Linked DNA regions of Homo sapiens: regions 2, 3 and 4 are each linked to region 1. Evidence: promoter capture Hi-C in 16 types of primary human blood cells and fetal thymus (Javierre and others, 2016). All regions are on one chromosome and are shown on one strand. Each heading gives the region's core, a stretch centred on a gene start or on the middle of the fragment in contact. The rest is flanking DNA. Distances are from core to core; before and after follow the strand shown. Region 1 holds the start of ACTR8 (actin related protein 8). Region 2 overlaps ARF4 (ARF GTPase 4). Region 3 overlaps PDE12 (phosphodiesterase 12). Region 4 has its middle 4.6 kb from the start of APPL1.

Region 1 (2,656 bases), core at 87-2,586:
TTTATTTAGTATTTAGTCATCACATGCTTATTGGGCACCTACCATGTGCTGAAGATAACTGGCAAAGTCTCACGGAGCTTACATTCTAGTGTGGGAGACAGTGAGCAGGCATGATAATTACAGACTAATGCTTCATGCTTCAAAGGGAATAGGATGATGAGAGAATAACTGCGGAAGGCCTGAGGTGACATTTGAGTTCAGACGTGAGAATGAGACAGCTGAGGGAAGAGCATCCAAGGCAAAATGAACAGCAAGTGCAACAGCCCGATGACGGGAAGGGCTTGGCATGTCTGAGAAAGATAAAACAGGTGTAGCTGGAAATGCCAAGGAATGGGGAGAGTGTTGTGAGGTGAACTTAGAAATGTAGCAATAACTAGATATGGTCTTTAGGTGGTGGTTAGTTTAGATTCTGTTCTTTGAGCAAAGGGAAACCATTAGAGTTTAAAGCATGAGTGACATCTAATTTTTGAGGTAAGTCTTAGTGGAGTGCTGGGTACATAGTAGTATTAACTACGTAATATTTTAAAACAACGTGGGCAACTATATAAGAACAGATCATAGGGGGACAGGACAAGGAGTTCGAGTTAAGAGGCTGTTGTAGTCATCCAGGTGAGATGATAGTGGCTTGGGCTAGGTAGTGGCATGGGAATGGAGAAGTGGATGAATTCAAGATCTATTTTAGAGACTGCAGGATTTACTGATGGATTGGATGTAGAAGCTGTCAACAAGTGAAGAATCAAAATGACATTTACTGAGATGGTGAAAGTGAGAGGGGAGGGAATCAAGAGTTAAATTTTGGACATATTTAAGTTTGCAGTGCCTTGTAGACAATCCAGATGGAGAGACCAAGTAGGCACTGGTTATCAGTACGGATCTCTCTGAGCGGTTCATCCTGGATATATATATTTGGGAATCGTATTCATTGCTAAAGCCAGGAAACTGGATAGTCACCCAAGGAGTGTGCCTGGAAAAGACCTAACCCCAACATCAGAGGCTGGACTGAACATGAAGACATATGAGAAAAACTAAGAGTACATATGGTATCTGGGAAGCCAGGAGAAGAGATGCCTGTGAGGACGAAATAAGATGCGGGTTATCAGCCGACCCCCACTAGGCGCTCGAAAAGCTATGTGTACTATGTTGCTGGCATCTACACAGTCAGGACTAATCACAGCAACACCCACCCAATCAATCCGCATGCACACCCCGCCCCCAGCCCCTGCGCCGGGCAGCCCCACCCCCGCCTTTTCGGAGCCCTCTGGGGCGACTCCGCGGCGGCCATCTTGACTGTGGGCAGCCGGCCGTGCGCCTGCGCGGTGGCCCTTCCATCCCGGCAGTCGTGGCTGCAGCGCTGAGGCGAGAGGTTGGTGGGTGTCTCCGGCCATAATGACCCAGGCTGAGAAGGGTGATACGGAGAACGGAAAGGAGAAGGGCGGCGAGAAGGAGAAGGAGCAGCGCGGCGTGAAGCGGCCCATCGTGCCCGCGCTGGTGCCGGAGTCGCTGCAAGAGGTGCGGCTCTGGCTGGGTTGGAACTCTTTGCCCTTGCTTGGGTCCTCCGCTGCCAGGCAAGGGGCGGGAGGCGGCGGGAGGCTTCGAGTCCCCCTTGCAGGCCCCAGCCCCTGGTGGGGGGAGTGCGGAAGCGGTCGTTCTTTTCCGGGTGGTGGCGCGCCGGGACGCCGAGGGCTGGGAGGTGCGGAGCGCCAGGAGCCAGGCGGAGCCCCCGCAGGGACACCGCTCCGATCTCCCGCACGCCCCACCGTCTGGTTGTGTGCGCTCCTGCCCGGGCTCTGGCCTCAGCTTCCCCGACCATAAAACGACCACGGTGATAACCAGCCGCCTCGCAAGTTGCCGTGAGGGTTAAATGGTGGCAGATAGAGTTTAGGACCAGGCTGGCTCACTGGGAGCGTCAGCCTGTGCTTGTTAAGGGATAGTTTGGGGTCCAGGCTTTTTCCTTTGTTAAGGAAATCTCAGATAATGGAAGTCATTTCAAGCTTAAAAGCAAGGAAATGGTGGACATTTGTCTAAATATATATTAAGAGCTTGTGTATCAAAAACAACACTATTAGACCAAACTAAACTAACCAGAAAAAATTATTTGCAGTAGCGTGCCTGGCAGAGGACCTTAGATGTATACACATACACAAAACCTTACTGATCAGTAACTAAAACAGCATTCACGTAGGAAAACGGGCACAGGCAGTGTACAATTCACAGAAGAAATGAGGCATAAACTGCTCAGAAATTCATGTAGGACATCTCTGATCCAGCTTCCTTACCGGTAGATGGGTTAAGGATAATACCTAACTAGTAGGGCAGCTACTAGTTAGTTATCACTAGTATGACAGTGCCTGGCACACCGTAAGCCCAGAGTGGCCATTACTGTTGCACAGGCCTGGTTTCTCCATCTGTCTAGTTGAGAAGGCTGACTGGATGGTCTGTAAGGGCCTTGCCAGATCCTTCCCTCTAGGATTCTCCCACTCTGTGGGGGGTGATTAGGAGGAGAGAGGTCACACTTGGAGATAGGACAACAGGTATCAGAGCATGGCATGGAATGGGCTTGTGCAGAGGGCAGTATTGGGCACTCAAGCAAGTACCTCCTCCATCCCCGACAGTCAGGGAGGGTTTCTTCAAAGGAGGTGAGGTGACATCTGTTTAG
Region 2 (2,656 bases), core at 1-2,500, 3.7 Mb before region 1:
AATCTCTCCACACCTGCAAAATATCCCCTGGGGGCAAAATTGCTCCCTGCTGAGAACCACTGTTCTAATCTAACTCTCTTACATATGAGGAAACTGAAACTTGGAATGACTTACCCAAGATGGGAGAGTTTGTTCTCACTCTACCTTTGTTTAACCTGGTCCCACCTCGATTGTGTTTTCTACCACCCAAGGAATTTCTTGTCAGTTTTTTTTTATTACTTAATAATTTTTTTTAAGTGTGATATCACTGCCACTTTATATTTTTAAGACTTGCAATGTCATCTTGTTATCAGCCTCTTAAAACATTGCATACAAGTGGGGTTTATTGCCATCAGGTGGCAGTGAATACCCTAGGTGAGTGGCTGGGACAACCAGGTTTACATAGTATGTCATATTAAATAAGTGGTATACTTTTTTATTTAAAAACGAGAATGTTTAGGCCAGGCACGGTGGCTCATGCCTGTGATCCCAGCACTTTGGGAGGCTGAGGCGGGCGGATCACGAGGTCAGGAGTTCAAGACCAGCCTGACCAACACAGTGAAACCCCGTCTTTACTAAAAATACAAAAATTAGCCGGGCGTGGTGGCGCGCACCTGTGATCCCAGCTACTCAGGAGGCTGAGGCAGGAGAATCACTTGAACCCGGGAGGTGGAGGTTGTGATGAGCCGAGATCACACCATTGCACTCCAGCATGGGTGACAAAGCGAGACTCTGTCTCAAAAAAAAAAAAATAGTAGAATGTTTATGGTCATCAATATAGCTGTGACTAGAAAAGATACTTGATACAGAGGCACATGCTTTAAAAAGCTTCCTTATGGAAAATGTTAAATACAAGGTGAACATTCCTTATCCGAAATTCTTGGGACCAGAAACCACTGTTTCTGATCTCAGAATTTTGGGGGTTTTGGAATATTTGCATTGTACCCAGTTGAGCATTCTAAATCCAGAAATCCAAAATCCGATATACTCCAGGGAGTTTTTTCTTTGTTATGTTGGTGCTCGGGAAGTTTTGGATTTGGATTTTTGGATTAAGGAAACTCAATCTGTACACCTACAAATAGAATAGCATAATAAACTCACATGTATGTATTATGCAGCTTCAGTTACTAGGATATAAGCAGTGCTGTGTTGTTTCATACTCATCTCTAATGTGCTCTACCCTCTAGACAGTTTGTTTATTTTTTTTGAGATGGAGTTCTCGTCCTGTCACCCAGGCTATGGCGCAATCTTGGCTCACTGCAACCTCTGCCTCCTGGGTTCAAGCGATTCTCCTGCCTCAGCCTCCCAAGTAGCTGGGACTTCAGGCATGCGCCACCACACCTGGCTAATTTTGTATTTTTAGTAGAGACGGGGTTTCACCATGTTAGCCAGGCTGGTCTCGATCTCCTGACCTCATGTGATCCACCTGCCTGGGCTTCCCAAAGTGCTGGGATTACAGGCATGAGCTACTGCGCTTGGCCAATATATTTTGAAAGAGTTAGATATGAAGTAAAACCTTGCTAATCCTTAAGCCTAATAATTCTTGACCAAGGGTAACCCTGGGTTTATCCCTAGATTTGTTTAGAATGCTTTGTAATTTACTTTGCATTCTTAATTTGAAATTAGACCCAATTCTGGCCTCTTTGGACCATCTGAGAATTAAAAGTCTAAGTACTGCTTCCTAGGGAGTTCATGCTAGCTGGGGAAAGCTTTATGTGTTACCTGATAGAATCAAAGCTAAGCTCTTAGCTTGCATTCCCAGCATTACTGATCAGTTCTCCTAGCTATAAAATTTAAAAGAAACTATAGCTTTAACCATGTTTCTAACTTATACTAACAAACCATGGCACAGTGTGTAGTAAATTCCTCTTATAATTCCAACTAATTTGCCATTGTAAATAAGTAAATATTTGGCTTTTCAAATAATTTCATAGCAGCTGGGCTTATCTGTAGAATCCTAGCTTTTCTTCACTCTTGATTCTAGGCTGTTCCAGGAAGAAAATAATTAGGGATTAATACCTAAAATAATTCTCCTTCTCAATAATGTCACTTTGGGACTGATAGCATTATTTGCATTTTAAAACAAAGGCTGGGTGCAGTGGCTTATGCCTGTACTCTCAGCACTTTGGGAGGCTGAGGTGGGAGGATCGCTTGAGCTCAGGAGTTTGAGGCCAGCCTGGGGAACATAGTGAGACCCTGTCTTTACATTTAAAAAAAAAAAAAAAGAATAAAAATGGGAAGTTAGCAGTCAAAATAAAATTAGGTCCCTTTTAGGGGCATTACCTCTTGTAAAGGGTAGGTTTCAGGACCGGGTGCTATGGCTTATGCCTGAAACACCAACACTTTGGGAGGCCATGATACGAGGATCACTTGAGGCCAGTCCAGGCAACAGAGTGAAACCCTGTCTCTACAAAAAAAAATTAAAAAAAAATTACCTGGGCATGGTGGCATACTCCTGTAGTCCCAGCTACTTGAGAGGCTGAGGTGGGAGGATCACCTGAGCACAGGAGTTGGAGGCTGAAGTGAGCTACAGTTGCGCCTCTGTACTCCAGCCTGGGGGACAAAAGGAGACCTTGCCTCTTTTTTGAAAAAAAGAAGAAACAAAAAAATGGAAGGTTTGGTTCTAAAAAGGAGTAGCTTTTGAAATATGGAAAGGAGGAGACATATTTGCTAAATA
Region 3 (2,656 bases), core at 101-2,600, 3.7 Mb before region 1:
GGTAAGGCCTGGTGGGTGGTAACTTCTTCATGACTAGGTAATGGAATCACCTGTTCAACCTCTAAAGCATTTAAGTCAATGAAAATGTAATCTAGACATCCATGAAAGCCACCAACATAATTTGTGTAAGCAGGTTCACCACAAGCACTTTTCAGCTTGAAGAAATGTGTAAGAGACATATTGCATCTTTCCTCCTCCCCATTGGAAGCCCAGTCTTCATGATCCTCTGGAATGCTGCCATTGATGACAAAATGATACATTCCTGTTGATGGTGTACTATTAAAGTCCCCACAAAATATAACTGGTATGCCAGGATACAGATCACATGAAACATGTCTTATGTGAGCCAAGGCTACTGCCATTTGAATGAGGCGAATATACCCACCTATGAATATAAAAAACATTAATGTAAGTATTTTTTAAAGTTGTCTTTAAGTTAAAAAAGAAAAACTACACAAATTACAGTCTCTGGGTGACGTTCAAGATATGCATTTGTGTAAAACACTTTAAACAACTTTAAGCGTGTTTAAGTCACTTGTGATACCAAATAAAACCTACCTTTAGGATGCCAGTAAAGATGGGTATTAGCAACACATATCCTTTTAGAAGAGTCCTTTGTAGACTGAAGAACTGAAACCTAAAATAAACGGAAAGTGCCAAGAGTTCAGTTGGCATTTGCAAATCTCCTGAATGTTTTTGTTTGTTTGTTTGTTTTTTTGAGTTTTTTCGAGACAGTCTCACTCTGTCAACCAGGCTGGAGTGCAGTAGCGCGATCTCGGCTCACTGCAAGCTCCGCCTCCCGGGTTCAAGCGATTCCCCTGCCTCTGCCTCCGGAGTAGCTGGGACTACAGGCGCGTGCCACCACGCCCGGCTAATTTTTTTGTATTTGTAGTAGAGACGGGGTTTCATCGTGTTAGCCAGGATGGTCTCGATTTCCTGACTTGTGATCCACCCGCCTCGGCCTCCCAAAGTGCTGGGATTACAGGCATAAGCCACCAGGCCCGGCCTGTTTTTTATCTAAGACTAATGGCGAACTAACGTTTTCTTCCATCTCCTTCCCTTGATGAACTAGGACTGCAGTCATGAAATCCAACTTAAAGTTTCAGGATCTACATGACTAGGTTCAGTGTAACATGTTTTAATAATAGTCCAATATAGGCCGGGCGTGGTGGCTCACGCCTGTAATCCCAGCACTTTGGGAGGCTGAGGCGGGCGGATCACGAGGTCAGGAGATCGAGACCATCCTGGCTAACATGGTGAAACCCCAAACCCCGTCTCTACTAAAAAAATTAGCCGGGCGTGGTGGCACGCGCCTCTAGTCCCAGCTACTAGGGAGGCTGAGGCAGGAGAATCGCTTGAACCCGGGAGGCGGAAGTTGCGGTGAGCCGATATCGCGCCACCGTACTCCAGCCTAGGTGACAGAGACTCCGTCTCAAAATAATAATAATAATAATAATAGTCCAATATATAAAGCTAGTAATATAAACAATACATTTTACATGACAACACTTTGACTGGAGAAAGTGTTTTCAAGCGTAAGCACAGGCTTTGGAGTCAGGCAGACCTGGGTTTGAATACTCATTTCACCATTTATAGCAATGTGACCTGCAAAAAGATGCTTTTCTAGCCAGTTTCGTACTGGCAGTCACTGACAATACCATCCACCTCATGGGCTGTTGTGTGGAGTCAATTAAATGATCTTATAAGGTGCATGAAACACCTTAGGTACTTAAAAAATGGTAGCTGCTCTTCTTATTATGAACAAAATCAATTACTTAAAAACTTTAACACAAGAATGACATCTATAAAATGGGAATAGGGGACTTACTGTGAAGATTCAATGAGCCTATGATTTAAAAAAAACTAGTTTATATTTATGGAGCACTTCAAAACACACCACGCTCTTAAATTTTAAGTACTTTAAAATGTGCCAGAACAGTGCTTGGCAAGTAGTAAAAAACATTAGCTACTATTGTTCTTGCATTTAGCGTGTGTCCCTCTCGCTAGATTGTAAGCACTGTAAAAGTCCCTGCTAGTCTTGTTCAAGGCAACCTGCAGTATGGCAGGCACACCAGAGGTGTTCAAAAAATATCTGCTGAATGAATGAAGAGTAAACTTTGTGCTGAAGATACAAGGGCAAACACACCTTTCAACAATATCTGGATACTTTCATCGCACTTTTAACCCCCACCTCATTCCTCGCCTTCCTGGCCCCTAAAAGTGGGACAGTATGTGAAGAGACGGGCGGAACTACTTTACCTGAAGAACAGAAGATCTCTGGAGCACCTTCTCCTGCGCTGATGGGTACAAAACTAGTTTCTCCAGCAGTTCTTTGTGAAGTGGGTCGGACTCGAGGGCTTCGTAGAATGAAATGTCATGCTGGCTAAGAAGGCTGAACTTAGACTTTCGGTAGAAAGTGGCCAGGCCTTCGTGCTGCTTGATTCGAAACACCCCCTCGAGCCCGAAGGCCTCTAGGGCGGGTACCAAGCTGTCAGAAAACACTGCGCGGTCAACCTCCTGCAAACAGATGACATCGGCGTTGTAGCCGGTGAGTTCCTTCTGGATAAGGTTCTGGCGGTAGTCGAGCTCCAGGGCGTAGGGGGCACAGTATGGGTACAGAACCGTTCGCGAGAACTCAGTCTGCGCGTACGTGTCT
Region 4 (2,656 bases), core at 93-2,592, 3.3 Mb before region 1:
GGGCACAGTAGCTCATGCTTGTAATCCTAGCACTTTGGGAGGTCAAGGTGGAAGGATTGCTTAAGCTCTGGAGTTTGAGACTAGCCTGGGCAACACAGAGACACCATCTCTACAAAAAAAAATTAAATTAAATTAAAATTTTAAAAAATTGGCCTGGTGCAGTGGCTCATGCCTGTAATCCCAGCACTTCGGGAGGCCGAGGCGGGTGGATCACCTGAGGTCAAGAGTTCAAGACCAGGCTGGGCAACATAGTGAAACCCCGTCTCTGCAAAAATTAGCTGGATGTGGTGGCAGGTTCCTATTATCCCAGCTACTCGGGAGGCTGAGGCAGGAGAATCGCTTGAACTTGGGAGGCGGAGGTTGCAGTGAGCCGAAATCACACCACTGCACTCCAACCTGGGTGACAAAGCGAGACTCAGTCTAAATTAAAACAAAAATTAACAAAAAATAAAGAGTCAAGCAAACATTTAGAAAAGGAATCCTAGATTCCAGCTAAGGATGGTGAGGACATGATTTCCAGGCTAACGAGCTGGAAACCACCTACTCACAAATATTCTCTAAAAGACTCCATCAATCTAAAATTCTGGGAAATTCATACTCCTTTTAAAGAGTGTAATGTATAATGCAAAAAATTCTGGTTGTTACCTAGTAAATCACTCCTTAATAGGACTAACTTTAACAGATAATTCATTATTTTCTTAATACCAGCTGAGATAAAGCAGATTCAGGAAAGAGCAGATTTCAAGAAAATTGATAATTTGGGAACTTCAGTCATTTAATCTATTTTAAAACATTAGAGCCAGTAGCAGAGTAGGGGGAAGCTTTGGACAATTGGAGGGTAAAACAAAAAGTTCTGAGGAATGGGTTGCAAAAAGAGGTGGGAGGGCACTAAGGACCAACTGGTTGGTTCTTCATTGTGCCACTGCAAACTAGCTTCTGCCTTTGACCTTGACCTTGATGTCACTTTTACTCATTGCCACAGCATCCTTAGAATGTGGGACAATTCTGCAGCTTCAACTTTCTTGATGGTAAAAAGAAAAAAAAAAACTTCTAGGAAAATTGTATATGCTTTTGTTTATCTATGGTTGCCTTGATTCCTTTTTAGAAGAACACATTAATTAATTTGTCTGAGCAGGCCAAGAACTTTAACACAAAATAGCATCATAGCCCTTCTGTGGAGAGGTAGATGAGAACATGGTTATGAGCTAATAAGCTTGGGCTGTGATTTAAATTCTGGCTCCACTGTTTAGTAGCTCTGTGACTTAAGTAAGGTTATTTAACTTCTCTGTTTCTCCATTCTGCCATCTGAAAAATGGAGCTTAATACTAGAGAACTTACATTAATAGTATTGTTAAGATGATTAATGAGCTTTTAGAGTAGCTCCTAGCGCAATAAGCATTCAGTAAAAATTATCTTTTTCATTATCAACTATTAAATATTAAAATATTTTAATACATTTAAGGAAGCTTTTTTGTCTCTATCATATTTTTTTAAAAACTAATATTTTTTAAATCAGAAGATTGGGCTCATTACCTTAGAGAATCCTGATGCTATTTTAAATAACATTAGTTACTCTTGCTAATGTTTTATCACTTTGATTTGGGGGCTTTTGAGGCCAAAACCAAAATTTCAAAATCAATAAATATGTACTTTGAAATTCTGGAGGAAAAGTGTACCAAAACAATTACCAAAATAGCCAAGATTATTGCCATTTTGAGGTTTTTAGGAGTTTTTGTTTTGTTTTTTGTTTTGTTTTTTGTTTGGCGGGTGGTGAGTGGGTAGAGGTGCCCCAAAGTTAAAAGATTTTCATGACACTTACCCCACATGGGAATTCTGGAAGGAACAGTCAAATCATTGGGGAAAAAATTGCTCATAGGCTGGGGGCGGTGGCTCACAGCTGTAATCCCAAAATTTTGGGAGGCTGAGGTGGGAGGATCGCTTGAGCCCAGGAATTTGAGACTAACCTGTGCAACATAGTGAGACCGTGTCTCTACAAAAAATTTAAAAATTAGCCAGGTGTGGTGGCACATGCCTGTAGTCCCAGTTACTCGGGAGGCTGAGGTGGGAGGATTGCTTAAGCCCAGGAGGTCAAGGCTGCAGTGAGCCGTGATCTTGCCGCTGTACTCCAGCCTGGTGATAGCGAGACCCTGTCTCAAAAAAATGCTTTTAGGGAAATTAATATGTCCTGTGCCTGTTTAATCATTGAAAACATTTTAATATTTTCAGAGCCATAGAGGGCAGTGAAAAACAGAGTAGCAGAATTGATTATACCAGTACTATTTATCCAATGGCTAATACAAATAAGACTCTCAGGGATAATTCACACGTGCTTCCAAGAACACTAGATGGCACCAATTATTTAGGATTCAGACTACCTCAGGGAACAGCTGTCTTCATTCAACAAATATTTATTAAATAATGAACAAAACAAAAATATCTGTCATTGTGGAGCTACAGGTTAGTAGATATGGTGGGGAGAAAGACAATAAAAAATAAACATAGTAAGTAGTATTAGAAGTATAGCATATTGGCCGGGAGCAGTGGCTCATGCCTATAATCCCAGCACTTTGGGAGGCCAAGGCGGGTGGATCACGAGATCAGGAGTTCAAGACCAGCCTTGACAATATGGCGAAACCCCATCTCTACTAAAAATACA

What was found. The method cuts DNA at HindIII sites, captures the fragments that hold promoters and counts their contacts. A CHiCAGO score of 5 or more calls a contact.
Region 2: a contact is called between a fragment that was not itself captured here and the fragment with the promoter of ACTR8 in region 1, in 1 of 17 cell types (non-activated CD4 T cells). The highest score is 7.0, in non-activated CD4 T cells.
Region 3: a contact is called between a fragment that was not itself captured here and the fragment with the promoter of ACTR8 in region 1, in 3 of 17 cell types (fetal thymus, activated CD4 T cells and non-activated CD4 T cells). The highest score is 7.4, in fetal thymus.
Region 4: a contact is called between a fragment that was not itself captured here and the fragment with the promoter of ACTR8 in region 1, in 1 of 17 cell types (non-activated CD4 T cells). The highest score is 7.2, in non-activated CD4 T cells.

The regions. Positions count from the first base shown.
Region 1 is chr3:53,880,832-53,883,487 of GRCh38, reverse strand. It overlaps ACTR8 (actin related protein 8), which reads left to right and starts at 1,336. Exons shown (of 13, transcript NM_022899.5): 1 at 1,336-1,509. The coding sequence starts at 1,387. RefSeq lists silencers at 1,120-1,209, 1,600-1,709 and an enhancer at 1,370-1,449. The HindIII fragment of the contact is 9,111 bases long and covers 1-1,993 here.
Region 2 is chr3:57,580,323-57,582,978 of GRCh38, reverse strand. The region is part of intron 3 of ARF4 (ARF GTPase 4); the gene reads left to right. It also overlaps a transcript of PDE12 not described here. Among named protein-coding and RNA genes, the nearest start is that of ARF4, 16 kb to the left of the region's middle. The HindIII fragment of the contact is 881 bases long and covers 810-1,690 here.
Region 3 is chr3:57,557,291-57,559,946 of GRCh38, reverse strand. PDE12 (phosphodiesterase 12) reads right to left here. Exons shown (of 3, transcript NM_177966.7): 1 at 2,260-2,656; 2 at 559-637; 3 at 1-385. Among named protein-coding and RNA genes, the nearest start is that of PDE12, 2.3 kb to the right of the region's middle. RefSeq lists an enhancer at 1,211-1,843. The HindIII fragment of the contact is 2,956 bases long and covers 1-2,656 here.
Region 4 is chr3:57,221,778-57,224,433 of GRCh38, reverse strand. It overlaps a transcript of HESX1 not described here. Among named protein-coding and RNA genes, the nearest start is that of APPL1, 4.6 kb to the left of the region's middle. The HindIII fragment of the contact is 253 bases long and covers 1,216-1,468 here.